2 separate regions of the Homo sapiens genome follow, and region 1 is linked to region 2. The links are contacts of gene promoters, found by promoter capture Hi-C in human tissues and cell types (Jung and others, 2019). All regions are on one chromosome and are shown on one strand. The core of a region is centred on a gene start or on the middle of the fragment in contact, and the rest is flanking DNA. Distances in the headings are between cores, read along the strand shown.

Region 1 (7,015 bases), core at 2,596-5,095, 360 kb after region 2:
ATTTCTTCATTCCTCAACATGTGTTTCTTTCAGCAGAAATGGCTGCTGAGTGCTTGGGATGGGGGTGGGGCAGCAGGAGAGGTTGACCCATGCATCTTTGTTCATGCCCCCAGGTTGCACTTGCATGATATGGCAGGGGTCTGGGACAAGGGAACACTTACTCATAACTCAAGGTAGAAGGGATGAGTCAATGGGGAGCCACAAAGCAAGCATGCTCTTCATTGAAGGCTTTAATGTTCCTTTGACAGTGTAGGAGTGAGCTAAAGAAGCTCTTAGTTTGCTTTCTCATGTGAGCCGATGGTCTGTTTGTGAGATGAGAGGTTAGACCAGACCGTCTCTCTGATCCCTTCTACCTGTGACATGGTCAGCTGCTGGGGTGAGAGGGGGGTGCATACCAGGACATACCTCTGCCTCCTCAAGAGAGCTCCATTGCTCCAGCTCCCTGCCAGGGCACTACTCTTCCTCCTGGGGAGGATCTTTGTGGGAGTCAGCTCGACTTAGGGAGCTGCACCGCCTCCTGGGGAGTTTTCCCAGCATCCTAAGATCAGGTCTGTTTTGCATCTCTCCCCACTGCTCCTGTTGCCCTTGTTCTTAGTCTGGAATCCCCAGGTCTGGACACTCGTTCTCACCTGCCTTGTCCTTTCCCTGTGTCTCCTTCCTTACCCTCCTGTTCCTTTCACAAAGTAGCAGGGATGCCCTCAGTCAGTGACTTTTATGCTCTGCCTCATGCTTTGACGCCCATGTCTTTATCAGCTTCCTAGCATAACCAGAGGAGTCAGAAGGACAGGACGCCTCAGTGCCATTTTACAGATGATAAAAGTGAGGGTCTAAGAGATTGGCCATTTTTCCAAGGCCCCCTGCAGTAAGACAGAGGGAGTGATGAGGCTCAGATTCAGGGCTCTTGAGGCCAAGCACCTGTCTATCAGCCCTCCTTTCACTGGCTACCTTTTTTGCCACTGCCCAGCCTTTCTGCAGATGTCCCTAAGGTAGAGGTGTTGGAACGGGAGCTGGCCTGGCTGAAGGAGCATCTGTCCCAGCTGGAGTCCCCTGTGGTGTTTTGTCACAATGACCTGCTCTGCAAGAATATCATCTATGACAGCATCAAAGGTATGGCTTCTCTGGCCCTGGGGCAGCAGCAGGGTTTTGGTTGGTTGGTTAGCTGGCTTCACGGAGCTGTTCTTCCGGCTGGCACTTGGACAAGCAAAAGTTAGACCTTGATTTAGGTCTTAAGTTAATTTGTAGGAGGGAAGGGGGAAAGGAAATAAAAAATTCCCACTTTGAAAAGTCTGTGCCAAGGGCCAGTCTCAGTGGCTCATGCCTATAATCCCAGCAGTTTGGGAGGCCAAGGCATGTGGATTGCTTAAGCCCAGGAATTCAAGACCAGCCCAGGCAATGTGGTGAGACCCTGTCTCTACAAAAAAAATACACAAAACTTTTCCTGGTATGGTGGTACATGCTATAGTCCTAGCTCCTCGGGAGGCTGAGGCAGGAGAATCACTTGAGCCTGGGAGGTGGAGGCTGCAGTGAGCCATGATGGAGCCACTACACTCCAGCCTGGGCAACAGAGCAAGACCCTATTTAAAAAAAAAAAAAAAGTCTGGCCAGGCGCGGTGGCTCATGCCTGTAATCCCAGCACTTTGGGAGGCTAAGGCGGGTGGATCATGAGGTCAGGAGTTCAAGACCAGCCTGGCCAACATGGCGAAACCCCATCTCTACTAAAAATACAAAAATTAGCTGGGCATGGTGGTGTGCGCCTGTAATCCTAGCTACTCAGGAGGCTGAGGCAGGAGAATCGCTTGAACCAGGGAGGCAGAGGTTGCAGTGAGCCGAGATCATGCCACTGTACTCCAGCCTGGGCGACAGAGCGAGACTCTGTCTCAAAAAAAAAAAAGACAAAAACAAACAAACAAAAATCTGTGCCAAGAAAGAGAGAGAACGAACACATCCTGGTGTTGCTGATGAGGGCATCACCCCAGGGCGTATTAATACTTAGCTTTATTCCTGATCCTTAGCCATGCTGAGGACAGCTGTCTTTAGATGAGGAGAGCCTGAAGATCCAGCTGTGTGAGAGGGACACTGGGAGCTGGGAAGGGCAGATGGATGGATGGATGGATGGATGGATGGATGGATGGATGGATGAATGGAAGTAGCTTGGAAGACTGCTGCAGTGATGGGATTGGGCAGGGTTGCTGCAGAGGCCGGCATCACTCAGTGGGTGCATCCCAGAGGTCTGTGGAAGCTTGACCAGGCTCTGTTGCCAGATCTCCTGGGCCAACTCTCATCGATTCTCCTCTACTTCATAGGTCACGTGCGGTTCATTGACTATGAATATGCTGGCTACAACTACCAAGCTTTTGACATTGGCAACCATTTCAATGAGTTTGCAGGTGAGAGGGGCATTTCTACAGTCATGTGCTTTGTAGCGGTGTTTCAGTCAATGACTGACCGCATGTAGATGGTGGTCCTATGAGATTACTGTATATTTACGGTAATAGGTACCATATTTTTACTGTACCTTTTCTATGTTTAGACATGTTTAGATACGTAAATACTTAGCATTGTGTTACAGTTACCCACAGTATTCAGTATAGTAACATGCTGTACAGGTTTGTAGCTCAGGAGCAACAGGCTATACCATGCAGCCTAGGTGTGTAGTAGGCTATCCCATCTAGGTTTGTGTAAGTACACTGATGATCACACAAAATCACCCGATGGTGCATTTCTCAGAAGGTATCCCTGTCATTAGGCAATACAGGACTATATTTGACCAACGTTCAAAGCACCCTCTTTAGGATGGGGACCAGGGCCAGGGTATGGGGAAGGCCAGAGGTGGTTCTATACTTAGAGGGTAGAGGCTAGATAGCTCTTGTCCTCCAAAATATCACAGCTTAAGGGGTTAAGGCACAGCCTGCTTTTAGAGAGTTCCAAGTCTCATTGGAGGAAACAGGACTCACATACACAGAGCAGACCTCTCCTAGCCCATATGGCACTTTGGTAACTCAGCTTGGTACATGAATTAGAAAAAGACCCCTTCCTCCAGGCAGACCCAGCTTAGACGATTGCTGCAGCTTGGCTAGCACAGCACAGGATGACTTCAGCCTCCACTCCTTTGTCCAAGCTCCTTTATACCCAGTACAACTGGCGCAATTGTACATGAGGGCCTTACATGTAGATAAGGAGCAGAACAAGCTACAAGTAGCTGTTTGCCTGGTGGCCTGATGAGAGTCATCTAAGTAGGATCTAAATATGTGCTATGTAATTTGACTCCCTAAGTTCAGTTTCTGGCTTTGCTGCTTACTGGCTGTGTGACCCTTGGGCAGTTTATTTACCTTCTCTGTGCCCCTATAAAATGGAGATGATGATAGTACCTACCTCATAGTGTTGATATGAGACACACACACACACATATGTATGACACATACTAAGCATTGTATTGGTGTTTGCTGCTGTGATTAGACTGCGAAGCTTTCCGGGAGTGGGGATGGAAGAGGCAGGATAGGGGGGTGATTCCTAGGGGTAGGCAGGTGTTCTATAAAGGCATAGTATGCACAATGGAACCATTTGTGTAGAGGAGGCAAGGCAGGTTTTTCCAGCTTGAGGGCTTAATTAGATGGAACCGAGGAGGCAACTCACATGGACGGAGCTGGACACTGGGGCTGGAGAGCTGTCCCCAGACTAGCACAGTAAAGTGTTCACATGATGGGGCCAGGCCCTGTGGCTCAGGATAGAGAGGCATGCCCAGGCCAACTGGACAGCCATTCTCCAGCCCCATCAGGCCAATTGTGTTCCTTCTGGAACCCCAGGTGATCAATCTGTCGAGCAATGATTGTACCTGAGAGTACACCTAGGAACCCCCAGGGTGATGGAGCCTCTGCTGGGCAGAGCAGCTGAGCCTCGGGGTGTGGCATGGAGCAGAGGCTGGCACTGGCAGGGCCCTGGGTCCGGGAATGCTTGGCTGCAAGGCCCCCTGGCCTTTCCACAAGGGATAATTCTTAAGCATTTTAAGTCCTCCTTGCCCACAGCACAGAGCAAAATCCAACTGGAATTTCTCCAAAGGGGTAGATTGCAGCCTGCTCTCAAGTTGAGAATGGAGGAGGAAGAACCTAGCCTGGGGGAAGGAAGAGAGCTAGGGAGATCCAGACCTAGGGAGAGGGGCCTCATGGGTGCGCAGGAGTGAGGAAGACACAGTTCTGGGCATTGGGAGATGAGAGTTCCAGCCCTGACTCTGCCTCTAACCACCATATGACCTTGGGTGCATTTCTTCTCCTCTCTGGGCCTCCGTTTGTACATCTGTTCCAGGAGATTCTTTTCTAGCCACGCTCCTGGAGCCTCAGGAGACTGTGTATGTTTCTCCAGGGATATAAAGGAAGCTTGAGAAGGACAAGAAGAAGAGGAAGGAGGGAACCCTAGAGAAGGTGGCCCAGTCCTGGTCCTCCTGTCTTAAACCACTTCTTTCTGTACCAGCTCTGAAGCTGTGGTTTATTCTACCATGCCCAGGATGAGGCTGGTGGTACTGGGCTGGCAGCTGGAGGGCTATGGTGGGGCTGGAAGAAACCAGAGCCATCTGATCCATGGGTTCCCAGCCTGGCTACACATCAGAGCCATCTGGGGAACTGGACTGGGGTGGGGGTGCTCTCCAGGTGATGTTTTTAAGTAGCCAGCTTAACACCAGGAAGCCATGTTTGATATCCCTACATGAAGTCCAGCTCCCTCATTTGATAAATGAAGAAATTTCGGCCAGTGATAGAAAAGAGTTCCCTTAAGGCTAACAAGGTTAGCATAAGACCTAGGGCTAGTAATGCTTATCCAGTGCTTTTAACTGAGGGCCTCCTGTGCACCATCATTTTTGTGCAGGGGTTGGGAAAGACAGTGGTGCTGTCTTGAGGGGTTCCTGTCACTCCCAGGACAGTGTCTTGCCCCTTAACCAGTCTACCTCTCTCTCTGCTTTCCTCAATCCCACAGAAACAGTGCTCCTAGCTGGGATGGGGTAGACCCCACACTAGCTGAGTTTAGTAATCAAAGAAGCTGCCTTCTCGGGCCGCCTCCTTGGGCACAGCCCCAAAGATCAAAGGAGATGGGAGTTTGAGGGGAGATGGGAACACCTACTGAGCTTGAGGAGACCCTTGGTGGGCCCATCTCTGAGCAACTTTGTCTGGCCTGCCTCCCCCTCAGGCGTGAATGAGGTGGATTACTGCCTGTACCCGGCGCGGGAGACCCAGCTGCAGTGGCTGCACTACTACCTGCAGGCACAAAAGGGGATGGCCGTGACCCCCAGGGAGGTGCAAAGGCTCTACGTGCAAGTCAACAAGTTTGCCCTGGTGAGTGCCTTATTTCTAGGGCTGGGGCAGGAAAGGAGGAGTTAGCAGGAGGGACTGGTGACCCACCTAGCCTCCTACCCAGAGCCCAGGGTCAGGTGAGAGCCTGGGGACACCCATCCCTGGCTCCTGACCCCACCCTAGAGGTGAAGCCTGGGAAGAGCCATCTTAGGCAGCTCTTAATACTTGATGCCCTGTTCCCTGCTCCCCAAGCCCCACCAAGTCTAGGCTCTCTCCTTTCTAGAGAAATACTTCCAAGAAATATCCTAGCTTCCTGTGTTAGCAATTCCCTTGTTTGAATAAGTAGTTCTTTCTACTGCCTAACCTCAGCCCTTCATGCTGCAGTTAAATTCATCCATATATATGTATATATACTTTTTTTTTTTTTTTTTTGAGGCAGAGTCTCACTCTTGTTGCCCAGGCTAGAGTGCAATGGCGCTATCTCGGCTCACTGCAACCTCCGCCTCTCAGGTTCAAGCCATTTTCCTGCCCTCAGCCTCCCAAGTAGCTGGGATTACAGACATGTACCACCACACCCAACTAGTTTTTTTGTATTTTTAGTAGAGACGTGGTTTCACAATGTTGGCCAGGCTCATCTTGAACTCCTGACCTCAGGTGATTCGCCCGCCTCTGCCTCCCAAAGTGTTGGGATTATAGGAGTGAACTACTGCGCCCGGCATATATATATATATATATATATATACTTTTTTTGAGACAGGGTCCCGCTCTGTCATCTAGGCTGGAGCACAGTGACACAATCATAGCTCACTGCAGCCTGAAACTCCCAGGCTCAAGCAATCCTCCCACCTCAGCCTCCTGAGTAGCTAGGATTACAGGTGTGCCACCATGCCCGGCTAATTTCTTTAAACTTTTTGTGGAGATCAGCTATTGCTATGTTGCCCAGGCTGGTCTCTAACTCCTGGCCTCAAATGATCCTCCCACCTCAGCCTCCTGAGTAGCTAAGGTTATAGGCGTGAGCTACCATGCCTGGCTATATGTGTGTGTGTATATACATATATATTTTTTTAACCTTTAGAGAAGATACAGAATATCAAGCTCATACTTCTGTGTAACTACCTCCACTGACTCAGAACTCTAAGTAAGCTTTTCCCAACAGGCTCTTCCTGCTCAAATGACTGTGCTGTCAGTTCTCAATTTTCAGTGCCCCTTATCCAAGATACCTGGTTCATGCCAGGTCTCCACCGGTGTGTGCCCAGGGATTGCTAATGTTGGCTTGCAGAAGTAAGAAGACAAGTCAGCTGCCTTGAATTTCACAGTACAGAAGAGAGCTAAATACAATCTTTACTTTTCTGTAATTTCGGATTCCCTATTCTGTTTTCCTCACTGGCACAAAACAGAGTCTACATTAGGTTCTTCCTCCTCAGTCTTAAGACTTTAAGACCTTAAGCACAAGCCTTCCTCTTGCTAAGTTTTTTAGTGATCATTCACATGTGCTAGCTTATCTATGCCCCTTTTAAGGAATGGAAAGGAAATAAAGTGGAGGGAGGTACTTTGTAGCCAACCCCTGAGTGAGGAGGATTCTGGGATGGGGTGGGAATGGGATGGGAGAGCCACAAGGGTTGGGGGACTCACATGGGAAAGTGATGGCATCACTAGTGTTTGTTCAGGGGTAGACGGGAACCGCAGCTCCCTGGCTTTATTTTATTTTATTTTTTTACTTTTATTTTAGATTCAGAGGT
Region 2 (6,227 bases), core at 1,218-3,717:
CAAGAGAGAGGGAGGGGGCTGGCACTGTGGCTCACGCCTGTAATCCCAGCACTTTGGGAGGCTGAGGAGGGTGGATCATGAGGTCAGGAGATTGAGACCATCCTGGCTAACAAAGTGAAACCCTGTCTCTACTAAAAATACAAAAAAAATTTGGCCGGGCATGGTGGCATGCGCCTGTAGTCCCAGCTACTCAGGAGGCTGAGGCAGGAGAATCGCTTGCACCCGGGAGGCAGAGGTTGCAGTAAGCCACTGCACTCCAGCCTGGGCAATAGAGTGAGACTCGGTCTCAAGAAAAAGAAAAAAAGAAAAACAAAAGAGAGAGGGAGGGGAGAGAGAACCACCCGTGGAAGCTGTGATCTTTGGTTGAGGGTGGCAGCCAGCGCACTGTGACCCCAAAGAGAGGAATCCTGAAGAATAAATATCCAGTTTCCCCTGACCTCCCTCCTTATTCAATCTTCAGCCATGGCCCCCATTGGCCAACCCAGTCTAGGAAGCCAGAGGGCCAGGAAGATCTGGAGGGGCAAACGGAAGACATGCAGTGCATCTTCCAAATCCTTCTCTATAATATGCCAGGAAGTCTTTTTCTGGTCACACTACTTCCCAGTTCCATTTGTGCACAGCAGGTTCTCTGTCACCTACAGCACCTAAACTTTTTGGCATGCCCTGGTTTCTCTTTATTCAATTTTTTCCTTACCAAAATGCATGATAAAGCCTGTGATCTGATCCTCCACTCAGCTACCTATGCCTACTTCCTGTTAGTTCTTTCCTTCAGACTTTTCACCCCAGCAGCATAGAACCACCAGTGGTCGCCGGGCGCGGTGGCTCACGCCTGTAATCCCAGCACTTTGGGAGGCCGAGGTGGGTGGAACACAAGGTCAGGAGATCGAGACCATCCTGGCTAACACGGTGAAACCCTGTCTCTACTAAAAATACAAAAAAAAAAAAAAAAAAAAAGAAAAAATTAGCTGGGCATAGTGGCGGGCGCCTGTAGTCCCAGCTACTCCGGAGGCTGGGCCAGAAGAATGGCGTGAACCCGGGAGGCAGAGCTTGCAGCGAGCCGAGATCACGCCACTGCACTCCAGCCTGGGCGACAGAGCAAGACTCCGTCTCAAAAAAAAAAAAAAAAAAAAGAACCACCAGTGGCCCCTGTAACACTCTGTTCTCTCAGGCTCCTGAGCTTGACCTGATGACAGACACAGAGTAAGCTGTCATAAATATTTGTATGGTGAAGAAGTGCACGGACACGTTTTTTAACCCCTGTGGCTCCTGAGATCAGGAGTAGCATCATATACATTATGACATATGTGCAGACCAAGCTGCCTTCAGTTAATTATCAAGATGTTTCACCTACATTCTCTCCTTTGATCATTACGAAAGCGTGATAGGTGAGGACGCTATTCTTGATATTCAGAGGGTGAAGTGGAATACTGAAAGTCACAAGCATTGGGTACAGAAGGCACTGTAGGATCAGAAAGGGGAGTGATCCCTTTCCTCCCCATCATAAGAGTCACAGCCGACACTTCTATAACAAAAGACAAGTTAACCAGAGAAAAGCATAACAAATTTATTTAATCATGGTTTTACTTGAGAGGCTGAGGACCAGGTGTTAATCTTCATAGTCTGTCGAGAAAGAAAGAAGAAATGAGGGCAGTGGAGGAAAACACGATTCACGTTTTTAGGAAAATATACTTTGAGATTAGTGATCGTTGGTACTATGCAAACCAAATGCAAACGAGGAGCTGGCCAACTCATGGTTTCTTTTGGGTGGAGCCTTTAGGAAAATTCTTCCAGAGACCACTGCTGGAAGAAAGGTATTTAGAGTAGAAAATTTAAATATAACATATTGTATGAAAGGTTTTTTTTTTTTACTTTTTTTTCTCACTACCCTAGTTGGGTTGGAGGATCCTCTATCTCCCCTCCCTACTTAGGTTGACTGCTGTTTCCTGGATCGCAGCTCGGAAGATCCACCTGGGCGAATACAAAAACAAACGAGACTCCCCTTCCAGAAAGGGAGGAAGGAAGGAGACAGAAAGACGAATGACACTGAGCGTGTAAAGCCCGGAGACAGCCTCTCTCTACCCCAACCTAACCCTCAAGGTAGGGGATCCCCCGAACATCGCTACCGTAATTATGGTAGAAATTCCTGAAACGGATAACTGGACCTCAGCACCGTCATTTCTAGCAGAATGATTGAGCTTTCCTCTGACCCAAAGCCAAGGGGTTCCAGCAGGGGAAACTAACGACCATCCGCAAAAACCCTCACCCAAGTGGGGAGTGGAAATCCTGGCTCTTGGGTTGCAGAGCACAACTTGACGCCAGCGCGTTTCTCTTCCCCCACGCAATGGCAAGTGGGGCGGGAGTCGGAGGGGAGAGGAGGAGAGGAGAAGAGAAGAGGAGGGGGAAGGGGAGGGGAGAGGCGAAGGGCGGCCCGGGTTCCAGCAGCCGCCCCGCCCTCCGGCTCGCGGCGGATTCGGCGCTGCGGCTGGAGCCGGCGGCCGGGTGCCTGCCTGTCCAGGCAGGGTCTGGCCGAGCGTCGCGTCGCCGTGCAGTGCGCCGGGTGTCCGGGAGATGGCTTCCCCTCTCTCGCCCGCTGCTGCCGCTATTGTCTCACCCGGGGTGGCCTGACTCTGCGAGCTCGCGCACGCTCTCGGCGGAGAGCACCCCTCCCCACCCCCACAAGCTGGTCCTTGCGCCCTTTGCTGCCTCTCCCTCTGCCCCTTGGAGCCTAGGGTCTGTGCGGAGCCTGGAGAGGGGAGCGGCCCGGGAGCAGGCGGCGTGCGGCCGGCCAGCTCCTCTCGCGCTGGTGCAAGAGGCGCCTGGAGCCGCAGAGCGAGCCCGGGAGGCGCGGAGCGAGCAGCCCACGTCGCCAGGCACAAGACACGTCGGATGTTGCAGCAGAGCCAGCAGCTAGCGCAGGTAGGACACGCATCCTGCGGGTTGCATCGGCCCCAGCGTCTGTAAAGTGCCCCCAGAGTGGAGGCAGCCGAGGTCAGGGGGCTCTCCCTCCAACATGGCAACAGCGGAGGTGCAACAATGGAAGCAGCCGAGGGTTCCTGGCGGCGGGCTGAGCGGCGGACGCCGTGGGAGCCTGAGCTCCTGCCCGCCGGGCAGAGCAGGTTGCCCCTCACCCCACTCCACTCCACTCCAGCAGCTTCAGGGCCTCTGGGGCTCCAGGCACCCGCGTCCCCACCCCCTTCTCGCTAAACACACTTCCTGGCTCCCAGCTGCAGGGCGATCTGAACCAGTCAATGGCTTTGGGGTTTGTTTATTTAAGATAAGAAATAAAAAAAGCAAAACCTGTCCTGTGATGGGGTTAGTGCCTTCTGTGGACTGGGTGAGAAGTCGGCATCTAGCCTGGGGAATGTGTACGTTTCTTAGTCGGGCGGAGGGTAGAATTGGATTCTCCCTTATAAGGATACTGCAGCAAAAGGAGACTGAAAGCTTGAAAGAGGGAGAGGGACCCTCAGGCCTGAGTTCGCCGGTGCTGGGAGAAGGCGCTGCTCTCCTGGCCTATACTTGTCCCTCATTTTCAGCTCCCGACAGCGGTGACTTTGATGTTGGAGGAGCAATCGCAGCAGGAAGCACAAGCAAGGCTGCCAAGCTGGTGTGGGGTGGAGTAGGGTGGGGAGCCCAGGGGCTTGGCAGGCTTCTGGATTGTGGGAAGAGGTTACCAAATGTATGAGGTTAGTGCACACACCCTAGTTGGCTGATGTTGAAGTGTGTGTGTGTGTGTGTGTGTGTGTGTGTTTTCTGCCATTGCTCTTGCTCCTTCAGGCCTGCCTTTTCTCCTCTCCACCCGCTTCTGGGGTCTTCGTAGCTTCCCTGCCCCAGCCCTTCCAATCATGCCTGGGATGGAATCGCTGTATTGTCTCTGGCAGCTCTCTTGGGCTGTTTTTTCTCAACTCTGTTGGAGAGTTTTGTACCCTGGGCTGGCTGGTCCCAGCATGGCACCAGATTCTTTAGCAGGCGGCTACCCGGGCTCCAAGAAGTGGGCCAATGCTGCCCCTCCTCCTTGCTCTAAACTACCTATTTGGGATATGGCCAGGCAGATGTAAGCAATTTGTACTAAATTCCAACCCTGAATCAGTGCTGAATGAAAACTTACTCTGTTGCTGCATCAGGCTTTGGGAAGATATTAGGAAGAGAAATGGCCCAGGAGGTGGCAATGCCGACCCCCAAATACTTCCCTCTCCCCAACTCCAGCTGCCGATCCCAGAGCAGACAGGCAGTGAGACTTTGGAATCCCAGCTCCTCCAGAGTCTGGCTGGCCCATCTTGAGGTTGTGTCCATGGAAAAATTAAGTCGAGGCACATTTTATAGCTCTGCTTGGCAGCCAGCATCTGAAGAGATGGTGGCTCTGAGCTGGAGCCCTAGACCCAGGCTGTGGCTGCTTCTCCTTTGGCCTTTGGGTGAGCCTGAGGTTTGATTGCCATGGCTCTGAGCTTACTGCTGAGTGTGTATGGCTGAATCTGATCAAGCTCTCAGACCCGGCTGCTTGTCTATTTCCTTCTCCACTGGAAGCATGAGTGAGAAAGGGCCAAGGGGGTGTGCTGGGTGAGGAAGGGTCAGTTTATCTGGGGACTTGGGCTGTTTCTGGGGGAGCTCCTTTGGACTTCCTTGGTGGTCTGGAATGCCTTTGGTCTTTGTCATGACCTAGTATGCTCTGGCAGATACTCTATACCCTCGTGGGCCTTTGGTCCCCGCTTGGTGGTGTCCCCACTCCTCCTGTGCCTGGTGCTTTGCATCTATATCATGTCTGTGGTGCTTCAGCTGGGATGGCCCTGGCCTGGACCAGTGGGTAGAAAAATGAGGTCTCTGTTCCTTTTAGGGGCTTGTAACTAGCTATAAGGTTCAGGCTCCTCATGTTCCCAGGATGTGAACTTGGACATCATAATGTGAAGTAGTAGAGAAAACAGTGTCTTGGTGTGACTTTCTTTTTAGCTATGTGAGCACAGACAATTTGTGGACCTAAGATTTAGTTTGTATATTTGTAAAATGGAGGTGGGGGAGTAGCCATGGCTCACAGGATTAATAATGAAATGCTGCTTACCAAGAACTAAACAGAATCATGTGTGCAAAAGTACCCTGAAAACTACAGAGTACTTTACAAATGATTATTCTTACTGGGTTTAGCCTCCCACATAAGGGAGGGAGATCTGTGAGGGATGGGGATAGGGTGGGATCTGAGGGCCACATGGAGTAGGGAATGTTTTGGGACCTTTTCTTTCTTGCTAAGGAAAGAGTAGTGTGACAATACCAAGGTAACTGCTGTATTCCTTGGGTATTTTTCTTTAAATAGTGTTGGCAGGATGGGAACTGGGAGAGAAGGAAAGGATGCCTCATGATATTTGTAGGAATTGAGGAGGGATAAACACCTTCCAAAGGCTGGCTACTGCCTATAGAGAGGATAATGCTGAGCTGGCAAGTAATGTAATCACTAACACTCACTGATGTCAGCCAGCTAGTAAATGATAGAGGTGGGATTTGAAGCAAGCAGTCTCACTCCTTACCCTGTGTTCATAGCCTCAGTGCTACTCAGAGAGATATTGGGTCTTGGGAGAACAGAAAGGGACAGCAAAATTGTGGAGTTCATTCTTTTTGTTTGTTCTTGAGACAGGGTCTCTCCCTGTTGCCTAGGCTGGAGTGCAGTGGGCTCAAGTGATCCTTCGACCTCAGTCCCCACCCTGAGTAGCTTGGACTATAGGCATGCACCACTACATGTGGCTAATTTTTTAAGTTTTTGTAGAGATGGGGTCTCAGTATGTTGCCCAGGCTGGTCTCAAACTCCTGGCCTCAAAGGAACCTCCTGCCTTGGCCTCCCAAAGGGTTAGGATTATAGGCATGAGCCACTATGTCCAGCCTCAGAATTCATTTTTTTTTTTTGAGACAGAGTCTCACCCTGTCACCCAGACTGGAGTGCAGTGGTGTCATCTCAGCTCCCTGCAACCTCCGTCTCCCAGGTTCAAGGGATTCTTGTGCTTCAGCCTCCCGAGTAGCTGGGATTATAGGCGTGTGCCACCATGCCTGGCTAATTTTTTGTATTTTTAGTAGAGACAGGGTTTCACCATGTTGGCCAGGCTGGTCTCGAACTCCTGACCTCAGGTGATCCACCTGCCTCAGCCTCCCAAAGGGCCAGGATTACAGGTGTGAGTCACCATGTCCAGCCTCAGAATTCATTCTTAATGGATTCCTTGAATGCCCATGAGACGTCACCAGCCTGGGACATC

Evidence for each region. Contacts are between HindIII fragments. The study calls those that stand out against the background at their distance.
Region 1: a fragment that was not itself captured here is called in contact with the fragment with the promoter of PIK3C2B in region 2 in 1 of the 25 tissues and cell types used here (bladder).

What each region holds. Positions count from the first base shown.
Region 1 is chr1:204,135,407-204,142,421 of GRCh38, reverse strand. ETNK2 (ethanolamine kinase 2) reads left to right here. Exons shown (of 8, transcript NM_018208.4): 4 at 965-1,107; 5 at 2,304-2,387; 6 at 5,173-5,318. It overlaps ERLNC1 (estrogen receptor responsive lncRNA 1), which reads right to left and starts at 1,014. Exons shown (of 3, transcript NR_123739.1): 1 at 946-1,014; 2 at 162-857. The HindIII fragment of the contact is 3,100 bases long and covers 2,296-5,395 here.
Region 2 is chr1:204,491,045-204,497,271 of GRCh38, reverse strand. It overlaps PIK3C2B (phosphatidylinositol-4-phosphate 3-kinase catalytic subunit type 2 beta), which reads left to right and starts at 2,467. Exons shown (of 33, transcript NM_001377334.1): 1 at 2,467-2,916. It overlaps LOC124904584 (translation initiation factor IF-2), which reads right to left and starts at 5,521. Exons shown (of 2, transcript XM_047439554.1): 1 at 5,511-5,521; 2 at 1,540-3,096. The coding sequence starts at 5,521. The coding sequence ends at 2,076. RefSeq lists silencers at 2,318-2,787, 4,347-4,426 and enhancers at 2,888-3,017, 3,088-3,277. The HindIII fragment of the contact is 7,537 bases long and covers 1-5,364 here.